Linked DNA regions of Homo sapiens: all the other regions are linked to region 2. The links are contacts of gene promoters, found by promoter capture Hi-C in blood cells and fetal thymus (Javierre and others, 2016). All regions are on one chromosome and are shown on one strand. Each heading gives the region's core, a stretch centred on a gene start or on the middle of the fragment in contact. The rest is flanking DNA. Distances are from core to core; before and after follow the strand shown.

Region 1 (2,732 bases), core at 206-2,705, 840 kb before region 2:
GTGAGATCTTCAAGGGAGTGGTGTAGGAGTGCTCTCAGAGAACTAATGCATCTCTGTATAAAAAGTGACTGAACACCCACTCACTACTTGGAAGTATGAATGTGGAAGTCAAAAACTTTGAGACTTCATTAAGGCAGGTCTTCACGAACCAGCTTAGGACTGAGTGGAAATTAAGAACAACATTGAGTTACTATGCTGACTATGGCTACGTATTGTAGATAATTGAGTTGAAACAACCAATCACTTTCAATGTTCTGAACCCTAAAAAAGGTGGATCACCTAAGGTCAGGAGTTCGAGACCAGTCTGGCTAACATTGTGAAACACTGTCTTTACTAAAAAATACAAAAATTAGCCGGGCGTGGTGGTGCATGCCTGTAATCCCAGCTACTCGGGAGGCCAAGGCATGAGAATCACTTGAACCTGGGAGGCAGAGGTTGCAGTGAGCAGACATCGTACCATTACACTCCGGCCTGGGTGACAAGAGTGAAACTCTGTCTCAAAAAAAAAAAAAAAAAAAAAAAAAAAGAGAGAGAGGCCGGGTGCGGTGGCTCACACCTGTAATCCCAGCACTTTGGGAGGCCGAGGTGGGCGGATCATGAGGTCAGGAGATCGAGACCATCTTGGCTAACTCGGTGAAACCCCGTCTCTACTAAAAATACAAAAAATTAGCCGGGCGCCGTGGCGGGCACCTGTAATCCCAGCTACTCAGGAGGCTGAGGCAGGAGAATGGCATGAACCCGGGAGGCGGAGCTTGCAGTGAGCCGAGATAGCGCCACTGCAGTCCGGCCTGGGCGACAAAGCAAGACTCCTTCTCAAAAAAATAAAAAAAAAAAGAGAGAGAGAGAAGAATGAAATAAAAGACTTTCTCCAGATACTTAAGATAAATCTGGGAAAGAGAGGAAGAGAATAAAAATTAGAATACCCAAATAACAAAATTTAGAGCTCAAACATTAAACATATGAAGAAAATGTTTTGTCTTAGAATTATTATTATGTTACTAATATAGGGTGGGGATAAAAATTCAAACAATAAGAAATGTGCAAAGTGAAAAATGCAAACCCTATTTTCTATCCTCTCTTTCCCAGTCTCGCTCCTCAGAGGTCACCCTAGTTAAAAAATGTAGTGCATAACCTTCTAGACCTTAGATAGATAAATTTAAATTTTTATTTTTATTTTTTTATTATTTATTTATTTATTTTGAGACGGAGTCTTGCTGTCTCCCAGGCTGGAGTGCAGTGGCAAGATCTCGGCTCACTGCAAGCTCCGCCTCCCGGGTTCATGCCATTCTCCTGCCTCAGCCTCCCAAGTAGCTGGGACTACAGGTGCCTGCCACCACACCCGGCTAATTTTTTGTATTTTTGGTAGAGATGGGGTTTCACCATGCTAGCCAGGATGGTCTCGATCTCCTGACCTCACGATCCACCCGCCTCGGCCTCCCAAAGTGCTGGGATTACAGGCATGAGCCACTGAGCCCAGCCTTAAAATTTTCTTTTCATAAACAAATGGAATCATGCTATACATATTTTTTATTTTTTAATTTTTATTTATTATTTTTTTGAGACAGAGTCTCACTCTGTTGCTCAGGCTGTTGTCTCGAACTCCTGACTTCAGGTGACCCACCCGCCTCAGCATCCCAAAGTGCTGGGATTGCAGGCATGAGCCACCATGCCCCGCTCATATTTTTAAATTTTAACATGGTATTCTGTAACTTGCCTTTTTCACTTAGCAATCTAAAATATGCTAAATATTGTTCCACGTCAGTACACATAGATTTATCTCATATTTTAAAACAGTTGTATGGTATTCCGTTGCAAATATGTGCCATAACCTATTATACCATTCCTATTTATGGAGACCTGGAGGGTGAGAAGCCAGCCATTTAAAAAGCAGAGAAAACTGTGTTCCTGGGAAGGGATTAGCAAGGTCACAAAGGCACTGGGGTGAGGATGTTTGTCGGGTTCCAGGAACAGAGAGACCCAACCATGGGATCCCAGTGGGTCCATCTGAGGACCAGAGACTGTGGTACAGAGAGCAGGGCTTGGACTTCCTGGGGTTGTTTCCTGCCTCCACAGTAGCTCTCTGAGAGACCCTGGGCAAGTGTAACCTCTGTGCCTCTGTGGCTTCATCTGTGAAATAGGAATGATAATAATACCTACTTCCTATGCTTGTTGTCAGGATCCAAAGAATTACTATTTTACATAAAAAGCCCTTAGAACAATGTCTAACTCATAATAAGTCAGCAGTGATTATGCAGGTCATGGAAAGGATGTCAGATGTTATTTAAGTGCAGTGGGGGCTGGGCACGGTGGTTCACACCTGTAATTCCAGCACTTTGGGAGGCCAAGGCAGGTGGATGGGTCACTTGAAGTCAGGAGTTCGAGACCAGCCTGGCCAACATGGCGAAACCCCGCCTCTATTAAAAAAATACAAAAATTAGCCAGGCGTGGTGGCAGGCACCTGTAACCCCAGCTACTCGGAAAGCTGAGGCAGGAGAATCTCTTGAACCCGGGAGGCAGAGGTTGCAGTTAGCCAAGATCGTGCCACTGCACTCCAGCCTGGGCAATAGAGTGAGACTTTGCCTCAAAAATAAATAAATAATTAAATAAATGCAATGGGAAGCTATCGAAATGTTTTAATTAGGGGGAATGTCTTGACTCAGTTTTTATTTTTATAAGATTACATTCCCCATTGGATGGAGAATGGGTTGGAAGGAGGTAAAAGCTAGGATACC
Region 2 (2,751 bases), core at 164-2,663:
TTCTCAGAAAATATCTGGCATCACCTCAAATCTGGATTTCGAACATTACAGAGGGATGAATGAGGAGCAGTACCACTGGACTGAGGGCCTGGCCCACTTTGCCATCTTGGTATTCTTAATCTTTGTCCTAGTTCCTGGCACGATAAGAATTTTCAAATAAATAAATAATTTTTGTATTAAAAAAGTAGTATTTAGAACCGAATATCTTCTATAATATAGAAAATTGAGTCAGCTTTCCCAGTAATGATTCTTTAAGTTGGCCTTCTGAAATATGAGAAAATGTTACCCTGATAGTCTCGATGATATTTTGCACCATGGGTAGGGTTGTATTTTAAAGTTAAATGACTACATATATTGTTTTTTGTTTTTGTCGAGAGACCTGAGATGGGGCTAATTGAAAACGTCTGGAGCTTAAAGACCCGTGCAGTTTACGCAGCAAGGATATTATTGCTCTGAATTTCAATAAATCAACATTTCACTATATATCGGCAAAGTCTACAGCCTTTAAAAAATGACCAATATAGACGGAATCAAAACCGATGTAGTCCCAAAGCGGCACAGAGCTGTATCTGCCAAAGCGTCCATTTAAATTCGTGCGTTCCAAGGAAAATTACTGCTTAGTTTCTATCCATTTGCAAAAGTTTATGATTTTTTTCAGGCATTCCTCACACCTGTTAGGTTAAAATCAGTAACACTCTTAAAAAGAAAGCGAGAGACCGGAAATGATATGAGAATAGAATTGGCCACTCCAGAGACATCTGCAAATGACACTCCATTTTTCCTTCTCGCGCTGCAAAATGTACCGGTAAACCGGACTTCCCGGGACTCGCTGGGTGGCCGACATTTTCCCTAGCAGGAATTTTACGTTTCCAAGATCTGAATGGATGTTAACGGTCGGGCTAAATGCCAGGCAGGTCTTCATTGTGGAATTAAACAGCGGTGGGAGCAAGCGGAATAACCGAGTTCCCCTCCCGCACCTGAGTGCCGGCAGCGAGCCGCGAGCCGGGACCTGTCACCCGCGGGAAGCCCCGGCCGCCCGACGAACAGCATCTCCGGTTTCCGCCTCCGGCTCCGGCGCGGCTCCCCCGGCCCGCCTCTGCGTCAGGGACGCGGAAACCCCGTAGGAGCAGGGCGGGCGGGGAAAGCGAGGTTTAACTAACTCCGCAGCTATATTCTTCCGCCGCGAGGTAAAGAGTCCCAACCCAACCCCGGGCCCTAGGATTTCCAGCGACCCTGTAATATCGAGAAATTACCACATTTGGGTTTTTCTACCAACTTGCTTAGGATTTTATCCGAGGTAACGACCCCAGGATCACAATTTTGTAGCTGACCGAAGCACGGCGAGAAAATTCCTCCGCAAGAAACGGGTTCCGGCCACGAGCCTATAAAAAACGGGTGGTTGGGCGCCGCTGTCTTTTCAGTCGGGCGCTGAGTGGTTTTTCGGATCATGTCTGGTGGCTCCGCGGATTATAACAGGTATGCAGTCTGTTGGCGGTCGCGGTCTGTAGTGAAGGTCATAGGGCGCCAGGGGAGATGATAGTGGATGGCACGGAGGCAAAAACTCTAAATTAATGGACGTTTTCTTAGGGTACAGCACTCCTGTGCCCTTCCAGAAGCTTCCATGATGGGTAGGGCCCGGATTGTGGGGAGATAGGACGGTGGTGCGAAAGCAGTGGCTAAAGGGCGTTTTTCCTCTCTAAGACATTACGAAACTTCGGCTGCTTTCCTTCCCAGTGTAGAGCACGGGAAACATGGAGTAAAAAGCCGTGGCGCAGTCCGAGTTCGGTACACTGTAACCAGGACCCGAAGCTTTATTTTCGGTCATCCACACGAGTTGGGGGAGGGTCCTAGGCTTTACTTGGGGAAGGGTTGGAGGCAGCGGTCTCCACTCGGCCACGGCGCGGAGGCGACGGGACAGGACCGGTGCCGGTGAACCGTTGGCATCGCCCTCGCCAGGCCGCTCCGCCCGCGTCAATCACCCGGCTTGCGCATTGTTGGGGGCGGAGTTCGGCGCTCCGAGCTCTCGCGAGACGCTCCGCAGTTGAAACGGGATCGCCATGCGCTCGGGCCTGGGGGGCTGCCTTTCCGGGCATCCGCAGGCCCCAACCTTTAGGGAAGGCGCACAGTGTGGATATTCGCCCTGAGGCTGCTGCTTTAGCTTGTGCAGGGGAGGCTAACGTGCTGAGACGGGTTGCAAAGGGCTATGCGCTTAAGGTGCAGTTGAGGTGGCCTGGAAGGGGTGTCTGACTGCAGTATTCTTGTCAGCAGAGAACATGGCGGCCCAGAGGGAATGGACCCCGATGGTGTCATCGAGGTAAGAAACGGTTGTGGATCTTGAAGCTTTGGAAAGGTGAGTGTGTTCATCTCATTTATGCGTGCATTATTTTTTCTAACTTACAGAGCAACTGGAATGAGATTGTTGATAACTTTGATGATATGAATTTAAAGGAGTCTCTCCTTCGTGGCATCTATGCTTACGGTTTTGAGAAGCCTTCCGCTATTCAGCAGAGAGCTATTATTCCCTGTATTAAAGGTAAAAGAAACTGGCATTTTTAGGAAATTGTTCTACATAGACATGAACCATAAAAGGGAAAGTAACCTCTGGGGGACTAGCACCTGTTTGTATTCCTTAAAGTGAAATGATGGCAATCATCTTTCGGGACTGACCTGAAATGAAGAGAATACTCATTGCTGATCACTTGATTATTTGGGCATAATGTTCCAAATGGAATACATGGTGTGAAGTAGAAG
Region 3 (2,991 bases), core at 442-2,941, 680 kb before region 2:
TACTCAAGGTGCAAGCTTTACACACCAATGCCGGGCTTGATTAATGGTATCAGAGGTACAGGATGTACTCCGTGCCAAATCCATTTACCCAGTCATCATTTTTTCTTTCTTATTTAAATCATTAAAATTACAGATTTGCTACTGTCTGTTCTCTACCAAAACAAAAATAAATAAATAAAATAAAATAAAAGGGTGATTTCAAGATTCTCTCATATACTCCAGGGCATTTGTAGTAGGGTTTTTAAAAAAGAGATAATTTAATTTTTGACAGTACAGTGTCAGGAAGCAGAGAAACTGGGTTTAAGTATTCCAAATTATTGGCAATTAAAGATCTGACATACATGGTGTTTCCAAAAGCATTTTGTAGGTCACTGTTAAAACACTATATATAGTTCCTGGAATAAATTGATCAGAGGTATACTTATCTTCACACACAACTCTTTATTTAAAAGAGGACTAAACAGATATAGCATCTGTAATGTCACAAATATCTCCCTGGTTACTTACAGAGATATTTGTGACATCTCCAACTTCTAAAAGAGTAAAATGTCTATGAAAAGTAATGGATTAAAAAAACTAATTCCATTGCATGTGGTACAATGCATCTCTACCAAAGGTCTTTTAAAACTTAGGCTGTTTCATATAGCGGAATCATTTTTTTCTAGACATACCCCCCCACCCCCAAATGAAACTCATTTCAGGACGGGTAAGTGTGTGAGTCTGGGGAAAAAGGGTGGGGTTAGAAGGGAGAAAACTTCTCCTAACGTGAGTGGAATAAAGTAACAATTTCAGGGAGGTACCATCTTCCTAAACACTTTTATTCTTCAAATAAAAACACCGTTAAGTCAACAAAAGGTGGAAAAACATTAATTTCACTCACTCCAGCTCTAAGCAATTCAAAATGCTTAAAGGTCAACTTCTTTTGTTTGACATATACACAATTTTAAACAGGAAACTTTTCCCCCGGTGAGCAATTCCATCCAATTTGTTTTTCACACTGTGTGTAGCATATCAAATTTTTCATAAGTGGGCAGGATACAAGGACACCCTTCACAGCCAGCATCCTCCGCAGCACTTTGGCCCAAGGAATCAGATATTTTCAAAGTCAAAGGAAAGAGAGGAGCAAAATAGCACACAGTTCATAACTTCCTAGAAAAACACTCGCGCCAGCCTGCCTGCGTGCCCCGTCCAAACACCACAAGAAATGTTCAGAATAACGCCTCTCTCAAATGCCACCAAACCGTATACAAAATCTGAGAAACCTCAGCAGTGAGTTGAGGGGCATGAAAGAGAGAGTGCTCTGTCGCTTAGGAAAATCTGTCAGATTAAATCATGGCCTAAGACATTTTGTGAATGTGTTAGGAGGAAGGGGACAACCAGTAGAAGACGGGAGGGGGAGATATTTTTCAGTCTCATGATGAAATACTTCACCCGGAAGAGCAAAAAAAATTCTAAAAAATTAAAAGAAATAAACTGCCATAAACGAACGGAAAAGAGGCATTCCAGGGTTAGAAAAATTGTATTCCAAGTATAATTTTTTTAAAAGCCTGAAGGAAAGGCTCGAGTTCATCCAGGAGTTTAAACCACTTCCTTTGCCCCCCCACCACCCGCGCCCCGGGCGCCCCCAGGAAAACTTTAGCACAGCGCAGCGGCGCGATCCAGGCCCCTCCCCTGTGGCGCGCAGCGGGCCCGGTTTTATGAATGGGAGAGCGAGCCGCGGCCGCCACATCAGGTAGAGGCTGTAACTGGATCTCTAGCGCTGGGCCCCATTCACAAAACAAGACACACTTCCACCCAATTCTCAGCCTTCCCCATTCATGAAAACTCCTTCAGCTGCGCCCCCGCCCCCATTTCCAACGCACGCCCAGCCTCCGACGCAGGCCCCTCACCCCAGCGTTTTAGGAAGAAAGCTCAATGCTTCATTCACAAAAAGGGAAGAAAAAAAAAAAAGCCGCAGGGAGCAGCGAGCCAACGAAAGAAACCCGCTTCATTCATAAAGTCACCCACATTCATAAAAACGAGGTGCGGCGCCCGGCGCTACCAACCGCTTCCAATCCCCCCACCCCCAACATCTCTCCCTGGCACCCCCTCGTCGACCAGGAGTTCGGTTCCCCCCCGAGTTTTCTCCACCCTCTGAAAATGCGGCCGGAACCCTAATCCGCTGCGAGGCTGCAGCATCTTTCGGTGCTGTCCCCTCCACACCCGTGTTATCCCCACCATCCCCAGGCCGCTGTTCCGGTGCGCCCCGATTTTCTCGAGTCGCCGCACAGCCGGACGCCCTCAGCCTGCTGGGTGGGAGCAGGGCGACTGGATGTCCACTTTCCACCACCTGAAACTTGCAAGGCCTGCGTAAGTTCCTGGTCGACCCCCGCCCCCGCAGGCTGCACTTGCCTGTGTCATTTACCCCCTCCCGGTGCTCTGGGGGGCAGCGCCTCTCAGACATTCCCCTCAAACTGCTTCCCGCCCCCTCCTCCCAACTGCGGAGCTCCGCCAAGCGTCTCTTCTCGCGAGCCTCCAAGTCCCCTCGGGGCTCTCGAATCTCCAGAGACTGTGAAAGCCTCGCAACTCCGCGATCCCCCATCCACTCGGGAGCCCCCGCACTCGCGCTCCGGGGCGCCTCCCCCACGACGTGTGGAAAGCCGCTCTCCCCGCGCTCCGGAACCGTTAGCCGCACCCGCCCGACGCCTCCCAGGAACCAAACCGGACCGGGCCGCGGGGGGAGGGGGCGGTCAACCCGGGGGGGGTCACCCCAGCTACTGCACCCCGACTTTGAAGATTCTGAATCAGCCCGTGAACTCTAGCCGGCTGGGCCTGTCGGACCAGTGGCCGGACGCCCCTTCCGATCTCCCCCCTGCCCCCGCAAAGCCCCCTCACCTGAGGCGGCCTCTCTCCTCCCCTTGCAGCGGCCCCGGCGGCGCAGGCGCGCTCACGCACGCGCGCAGCGGGCCTGGGCGCCTGGGCGAAAGGCTGGGCCGAACCGCTCCGAAGACG

The links. The method cuts DNA at HindIII sites, captures the fragments that hold promoters and counts their contacts. A CHiCAGO score of 5 or more calls a contact.
Region 1: a fragment that was not itself captured here is called in contact with the fragment with the promoter of EIF4A2 in region 2 in 2 of 17 cell types (naive CD8 T cells and total B cells); the score reaches 5.5 in naive CD8 T cells.
Region 3: a fragment that was not itself captured here is called in contact with the fragment with the promoter of EIF4A2 in region 2 in 1 of 17 cell types (fetal thymus); the score reaches 7.5 in fetal thymus.

The regions. Positions count from the first base shown.
Region 1 is chr3:185,944,430-185,947,161 of GRCh38, forward strand. No RefSeq gene overlaps it. Among named protein-coding and RNA genes, the nearest start is that of TRA2B, 7.8 kb to the left of the region's middle. The HindIII fragment of the contact is 4,953 bases long and covers 1-2,732 here.
Region 2 is chr3:186,782,164-186,784,914 of GRCh38, forward strand. It overlaps EIF4A2 (eukaryotic translation initiation factor 4A2), which reads left to right and starts at 1,414. Exons shown (of 11, transcript NM_001967.4): 1 at 1,414-1,476; 2 at 2,269-2,314; 3 at 2,401-2,533. The coding sequence starts at 1,448. SNORD2 (small nucleolar RNA, C/D box 2) reads left to right here and starts at 2,633; the gene lies at 2,633-2,702. RefSeq lists an enhancer at 2,090-2,319. The HindIII fragment of the contact is 20,029 bases long and covers 1-1,614 here.
Region 3 is chr3:186,106,066-186,109,056 of GRCh38, forward strand. It overlaps ETV5 (ETS variant transcription factor 5), which reads right to left. Exons shown (of 13, transcript NM_004454.3): 1 at 2,875-2,991. Among named protein-coding and RNA genes, the nearest start is that of ETV5, 1.5 kb to the right of the region's middle. RefSeq lists enhancers at 1,747-1,806, 2,565-2,991 and silencers at 2,577-2,676, 2,707-2,991. The HindIII fragment of the contact is 3,357 bases long and covers 14-2,991 here.